Linked DNA regions of Homo sapiens: region 1 is linked to region 2. The links are contacts of gene promoters, found by promoter capture Hi-C in blood cells and fetal thymus (Javierre and others, 2016). All regions are on one chromosome and are shown on one strand. The core of a region is centred on a gene start or on the middle of the fragment in contact, and the rest is flanking DNA. Distances in the headings are between cores, read along the strand shown.

Region 1 (3,373 bases), core at 755-3,254, about 14 Mb before region 2:
ACCAAATGGAACAAATACAACAGATCTATGGTCCTTTAAATGCTCCAAAAACCAGAACTTGATTTATAAACTGACCGCAAAACTTCACCTGGATTGCCACAGGCCATGTAGGGTCTTAATGTTCTCATAAGTGTGAATATTCACACCTTGCCCCACAGAAACATTTTATGACCAAAAACTGGCCCAGATTCCTCGGGGTGTGGGGGGGTGCTGCCTAATTATAAAATATGCACCCTATTAGCTTTCTAAAATCTGAAAAATTCTGATTCCCGAGATTGCCTTGGTGCCAAGGGGACCTGCACTTATGTCTCAGTGCTGCTGCGGGGATCAGAAGAGGAAATGCAACTCCAGCAGGGCGCCTGGCACACAGAAAGCACTCAAATACTGTAAATGTTAAGTACTTCAACTTCCCGAAGAACTCCCATCCATCGTCCAGCAAGATTCTGCCTAAATTTGCCAACTTCAGGTAACTCATTCCCCTCCTTCCCCAACCAAAACCAAAATAAAACAGAACCACTCCTCTCAGGGCCATCAGGGAGGCCTGGAAACCCCTTTAGCAGTTTTCTTTTCTTTTCTTTTCTTTCTCAGCTCACTGCAACCTCTGCCTCCTGGGTTCAAGCAATCCTCCCACCTCGGCCTCCCAATTAGCTAGGAATACAGGGGCGCACCACCACGCCCGGCTAATTTTTCTATTTTTTTCTTCTTTTGTGGAGACAGGGCTTCACCATCTGGCCCAGGCTAGCCTCGAAATCCTGGGCTCAAGCGATCCGCCCACCTCAGCCTCCCAAGGTGGTTTTCTTCCTTTCTTTTTTTTTTTTTTTTTTTAAGATGTAGTCTCGCTCTGTCACCCAGGCTGGAGTGCAATGGCGCGATCTCGGCTCACTGCAACCTCCAGCTCCTGGGTTCAAGCGATTCTCCTGCCTCAGCCTCCTGAGTAGCTGGGATTACAGGCCCCCGCCACCACGCTCAACTAATTTTTGTATTTTTAGTAGAGACTGGGGGTTCGAGGAACTCCTGGCTGTAAGTGATCCCCCCCGCCAAGGCTTCCCAAAGTGCTGGGATTACAGGCGTGATCTACCGTGCCCAGACCTTGAGCGGTTTTCATAACAGACTGTGAAAGACGGTTCACACCTTCACCCTGACAACCGCCGCCCAAGGCGACGCACCCTTTGCCGAAGTCGCCCCCACTTGCATTCCGTCACCTCTCAGGAAGGACCGAGCCCGCAAGTCCCTCAGCCCCAGCGTCTCCGTACCTCGGGATTGTAGTCGGCCGCGTCAACAGACGCAACCCCAGCCTCAAGGGAGCGGGAGATTCAACTCCCCGCACACGCGCCTCCTCGCAGCGACTTCCTGTGCGCGAGAAGCTTCTCTGAGCGGCTGCACCCAGGATCCTCCGCGGCAGCGCCAGGACTCTATTTCCCAGAGGGCTGTGCGGGCGACTTCTTTCGCCTTCCCATCTCCTCCTGCTTCTTCAGCCTTAGCACTGTGGGAGTAGAGTAGAAAGAGAATCAGGACCAGGCGGCATCAGTTTGTAGTCCAGATTTTTACCTTGTTAAAGAATCATCTAATTAGCTTCTTGCCTTTACTAGAAGTCAGGGAGTGTTAACCTTTTCCGAAGAGCAAGCGGTAGGTTGCCATGGAAACGCGTTGTGACGGGTTTCTGAGAAAACAAGCGGAAGTAAGGGGCGGAGTTGAGGCAGAAGTTTAGGTAATGTGACCTCTGATTGGTGGAGAGGTACCTCACGGTGCATTCCGATTGGTCTGACACTGACACATGCGCAGTAGAACCAGAAGGCGTTCCAAAGCGGCTAGAACGGAGGGGAGGGGGATGAGCAATGAGGGAATAATCCCCATTCCGTCTGGAATCAGAGGGCGGGCCTGCCGCGGAGGCATCTGGGAAACGGAGTTCCCAGGCAGGCGAAGCCCAGGGGCCGTCAGGAAGTCAGCGGCGCCTGCGCGGGCGCCTCAGATTCAGGATGCGCGCGCAGCGCTCTCCGCCCAGCGGAAGTTTTCGCTGGGCAACTGAGAAGGTGAGTCCGGGTAACTGCGGAGGATCCGAGGGTCAGGCTGCAGAAGCCCAGAATCCCACCCCAGTCCCCAAGTACAGAGGTGAGGGGAAGCGAGGCGAACGAGGGGACGTCCCCCGACCCCCTAGCCGCAGCTCGGCCGGGGCGTCCGTGACGTCAGCACGACCGTTTGTGGGAGGCGGAGGCCCCTGCTGTCGGGGTTCGGAATGAGAGCGGCTCCGGGTCGCGGGGTTCACTGGCCTCCTCTTGAGCTTCCCAAGCCACCTTGGGCTCCGTGTTGGGCATGGCTAAGGCGGAGATGGGCGGAACTTGTGGGAAGTTCGACAGCTCCTCCGCTGTGAAACTTGGCGTCTAAGTCATCCCGTGGTTTCTATGGAGGTGCGGCCGAAGGGAGGCTCTGTCGTCGCCTAGGCAATCGCCCCACCTGCGCTGAGGTGGGGTCTGACTTTTAGCCTTTTTGCTGTGCTGTTTCCTGAACTTTCTAGGAGGAACACTATACAGTAGTTGACGCATAGCAGCTGTTCCCTAAACATTTGTTGAATAAGTCAAATAAATTAAGATAAAGACTGGCCTGAGGGTTGGAGTCTTAGGGTTTCAAGTCCTGACCTGGCCATTGCATAGGTGACTTCAGCACATCCAATTTTATTGAGCGTTTACTATATGGAAGGCTCCGTGCAACCGATATTACACTACTATAACCTGGGTTTGAACGGTGCTAGTCTAATAGGCACTGTTCAAGCCCAGGTTATTATAGCAGTGTCTAAAACAAAAATCCTGCCCAGCTAATTCACATTCTCAGGGTGGTTGGGGATGCCAGACACTAAAAAAGAAATGTTAAAGAATATTTACAGGTCTGCAGTCCCTTATCTATAACTTTAAAATCCAAAACGTTCTGAAAACTGAAAGGTCTTTTTCTCTGTTTTGCAACTTACTTGGCAGGCCAACCTCACCTGGCTTTGAACTTGTTTGCTGGCAATACCCACTCTGAACTGATGTGTGACTATTTAGAATTTTTAAAGATTTTGTTGTGCAAATCATATACTTATGGAGAGTTGCCCCTGGATCTCGCCGGTGTTGTAATATGTAATAGGTTCTAAAATCCAAAAAATTTGGCTGGGCACGGTGGCTCCCGCCTGTAGTCCCAGCACTTTAGGAGACCGAGGTGGGCGGATCACCTGGGTTCAGGAGTTCGAGACCAGCCTGGCCAACATGGTGAAACCCCATCTCTACTAAAAATAAAAAAATTAGCCGGGCATGGTGGCATGCGCCTGTAATCCCAGCTACTCGGGAGGTTGAGGCAGGGAGAATCGCTTGAACCCAGGAAGCGGAGGTTGCAAGTGAGCTGA
Region 2 (3,600 bases), core at 568-3,067:
GAGGCTGAGCCAAGAGAATCGCTTGAACCTGGGGGGCAGAGGTTGCAGGGAGCAGAGATTGGGCCACTGCACTCTAGACTGGGCAAGAGAGAGAGACTCCATCTCAAAAAAAAAAAAAAAAAAAAAAAAAGACAGGGACTGGCTGTCCACCAAGCTGGAATGCTGTCGCCAGGATCTCTGCTCACTGCAGCCTTGACCTCCTAGGCTCAAGTGATCCTCCCACCTCAGCCTCCCAAGCAGCTAGGACTACGGGAGATCTCACTATGTCGCCCAAGCTGGTCTCTAACTCCTGGACTCTAGCCATCCTCCTGCCTTGGCTCACAGGTGTGAGCCACCAAGCCCGGCCTGAGGCTTTATATTTAAAATGTGTTGGGTCCCCATCTCCCCACACCTCAACGCCTTTTCTTTCTCAGTCTGTACTGGCTCTTGCAGCTTGTCTCTTTCCATAGTAAGTCTAGGATCAGTTCCCCTAGTTCCAAAAGAGAAAAGCCTGTCCATACTTTTATTAGGATCACATTATTACTATTATTGAGACGGAATCTCGCTCTTGTCCAGGCTGGAGTGCAGTGGCGAGATCTGGGCTCACTGCAACCTCCGCCTCCCAGGTTCAAGCGATTTTCCTGCCTCAGCCTCCGCGGTAGCTCAGATTACAGGCGCCCGCCACCACGCCCGGCTAATTTTTGTATTTTTTTATTTTATTTTTTTTTAGTAGAGACAGGGTTTCACCATGTTGGCCAGGCTCCTCTCGAACTCCTGATCTCAGGTAATCCACCCATCTCGGCCTCCCAAAGTGCTAGGATTACAGGCATGAGCCACCGCACCCGACCAAGATCACAGTAAATTAATACATTCACTTAAGTTTGCGCACACTTCTTAATGTCACATGGTATATTTATTTGTTCACATTTGTTATGCCCCTTAGTAGTATTTTAAAGTTCTTTCCTAATAGTTCTGAACCTTTAAGTTTCTTCCACAATACTTTATCTTTTTACTGCTATTGTAAATATTAGTTTTCTTCAACTATGTATTCTAACTGATATTTGTAAATTAGAAGGCTATTTATTTATAGATATTAACTTGGTACCCAATTACTTTATTTAACTTTTTGTAATTTAAAACTATGTCAATGACGACAGCGGGGGCGGGGTGATTTCCTTAGAAAACGCATCTTTGGAGACGTCAGTAGCATTCTCCATTACTTCACAAAATCCATACAACCTGAGAACGCCTCGACTCATTAAGGAATTAAGACACCTAGGATTTAGTCCAGACTCATAGATAAACACTGCAACAATTAAGCTTTCTTCAAAAAATGAGGATAACTGTGCCTAACCTAAAACCGTTGACTCCCTCATCCTGGGCGCCGTTATATGGGATTGCTTCTCAAAGCGTACAATGCTGTTTAGTCTAGGGCTTTGCTTAACAGCCCTATTTAAGTACCCCAAAGATGGGGATTTGAATAGTCTGAAGTAGGCACCCCGAAACTAAAGTTCCTTCGAAACACTCTCGTTTAATTAAAAAAAAAAGTCACGGTGATTTGCATGCCACTCCAATTAAAAAGAAATGCTTTTATATAAAAACTCGTTTTAAAATTATTCACCACTTAGCTTTTCCACCCCTTCAATTTTCAAGTAAAAAAGACGCTCCAGGAAGATGGCACCGTTATAATTATCAGCACTTTCGACAAGGGAAGTGCAGCTCAAACGTTATACCTCAATGCTGGTCTCCTACATCTCCCTCTTAGGCACAATCACACACAATCCCGCACCCAGTTTCACATTCACTCAACAATCCCAAACATCAGGTCAAACTTTGAGGACAAACTCGGTCACACTCGCTCAAACCCGCCTCAGAGGCCCCCATCTCCGCCCCGCACGTAGGCCAGAAGCTCTTACACCCACTCCCTGCCCTCGCGCCGCGCCCCTAAAGATCAGGAATCCTCCCCTTTAACCTCCCCGGTCCGACCGACCCGAGACGCCCAGATCCCACCTCCTACTTTCGCGCCACGTGGACCCAGGGGCCGTACTGACCCGCGGACAAAGACCAAAATGTCCACTCGGTGCGCTGCGCTTGCGCACTCGGAGAGCGAGGAAGCACTCCCAGAAGTCTCCGCGACGCGGCCCGCCTCGGTCACCGCGGCCAGGCCCAGGCTGGTACTGAATTACCTTCTATTACCAGCAACGTCGCTTCTCAGGCCTTGGACTACATTTCCCTTGAGGCTTTACTGGTCGACTCTCTGTCTCCTCCCCTCCCCCCGCGAACTTGGCCGCCTCCTTCTGTGACGATGGAGCTCTTGAGGTAAGTAGTCCTTTAGCGTCAGATGACTTCAAGCTTGCTGGAAGGTCTGGAGTGGCGACGCCCTCTCCGAAGACTCGTGGGCGCAAAAATGTCAAAACGAGCCAGGCCCCGACTCAGAGATAAGAGAACGCCATTCTGTCCGTGGCCGATCTAGCTCTGGACTACAATTCCCAGAGCCCACAGCGGCCTGACGTTACGTCGTTCTTGACGTCGTGGCGAGCTAGTTAGCTCCGCAAGGACCCGGACGCGACCAGGGGAGGCAGAAGGTGAGGGGTCTGGGAGTCCTGGGCGGGGCCGGGGCGTGTCCGGAGCCTCGAATCTGTGCGCGCAGGCGGGAGCTGGCTGCGGATGCGCCGTTCTGAATGTGTCTTTGTGGCTGTGTGGCTGGGTGTGGGTGTCTGCAACTGTGCACGTGTAACCGCCTGTCTCCAGGGTGTCTGGTGGTTTTTGTGTAACCATGTGTGATAGAGAGTATCGGGGTGCAGGGTCCTTGTGACCGGGGGTGATACTGCGTGTGTCCCCGTTGTATATGTGGCCTGTTCGCCCTGTTCCTGGGGTGTGAGTACAGTTGTGACTGTGTGACCACTGCGGGTGTGCGGTTGTGATTCATGTCTCCAAGGTGTGTGCGTGGTTTTGGTTGTGTGACACTGTGGCCGTGTGCAATTGCCTGTGCCTGTGACTGTGTGGTGACGCCGCTTGTGTATTCCTGTATCCCTTGGTGTGTGTGTTTGTGTGTATGTGTGTGGTGCTGTGTATGCGGGAGTGGGGTGCCACTGCTTGTGTGGGTTGCTTGTGTGAGTGTGACTGTGTGTATGTCCACAGTGAAAGTTCAGTTGTGACTGGGTGCCGTAAAGTACCAGTGATGGCGTGTGTCCCCTGAGTGGGTGTGTGACTGTGACTATATGAGGCATTTGTGGGTGTTGGTGTGTGGGGCTTGTGACTATACGGGAGTAACTGTATCACAGTGGAGAGTAGATTGTGTGACTGGGTGTGTCTTAGCGGGTGTGTGATTGTGACTGGAAAGATATTGTGACTGGAAAGGTATAGAGGTGTCTGTGATTGTGTCCTGTGTCTCAGGAGTGGATGTAGGGCCGGGTGTGGTGGCTCACATCAGCCCTTTGGGAGGCCGAGGTGGGAGGATCACTTGAGCCCAGGAGTTCGAGACCAGCCTGGCCTGTACAAAAAAAAAAAAAAAAAATTAATGGCTGGCACGGTGGCTCACACCTGTAATCCCAGCACTTTGGGAGGCCGAGGCGGGTGGATCACCTGAGGTCAGGAGTTCTAGACCAGCCTGGCCAACAC

The links. The method cuts DNA at HindIII sites, captures the fragments that hold promoters and counts their contacts. A CHiCAGO score of 5 or more calls a contact.
Region 1: the fragment with the promoter of VRK3 here is called in contact with a fragment that was not itself captured in region 2 in 2 of 17 cell types (fetal thymus and total CD8 T cells); the score reaches 6.8 in fetal thymus.

What each region holds. Positions count from the first base shown.
Region 1 is chr19:50,024,003-50,027,375 of GRCh38, reverse strand. VRK3 (VRK serine/threonine kinase 3) reads left to right here and starts at 2,004. Exons shown (of 15, transcript NM_016440.4): 1 at 2,004-2,109. It overlaps ZNF473 (zinc finger protein 473), which reads right to left and starts at 1,371. Exons shown (of 5, transcript NM_015428.4): 1 at 1,254-1,371. RefSeq lists enhancers at 1,218-1,267, 1,678-1,727, 2,068-2,147, 2,197-2,698. The HindIII fragment of the contact is 2,425 bases long and covers 1,367-3,373 here.
Region 2 is chr19:36,213,586-36,217,185 of GRCh38, reverse strand. It overlaps ZNF565 (zinc finger protein 565), which reads left to right and starts at 2,521. Exons shown (of 5, transcript NM_152477.5): 1 at 2,521-2,564. ZNF146 (zinc finger protein 146) reads right to left here and starts at 2,080. Exons shown (of 4, transcript NM_007145.3): 1 at 1,990-2,080. RefSeq lists enhancers at 1,837-2,026, 2,137-2,566. The HindIII fragment of the contact is 1,032 bases long and covers 1,302-2,333 here.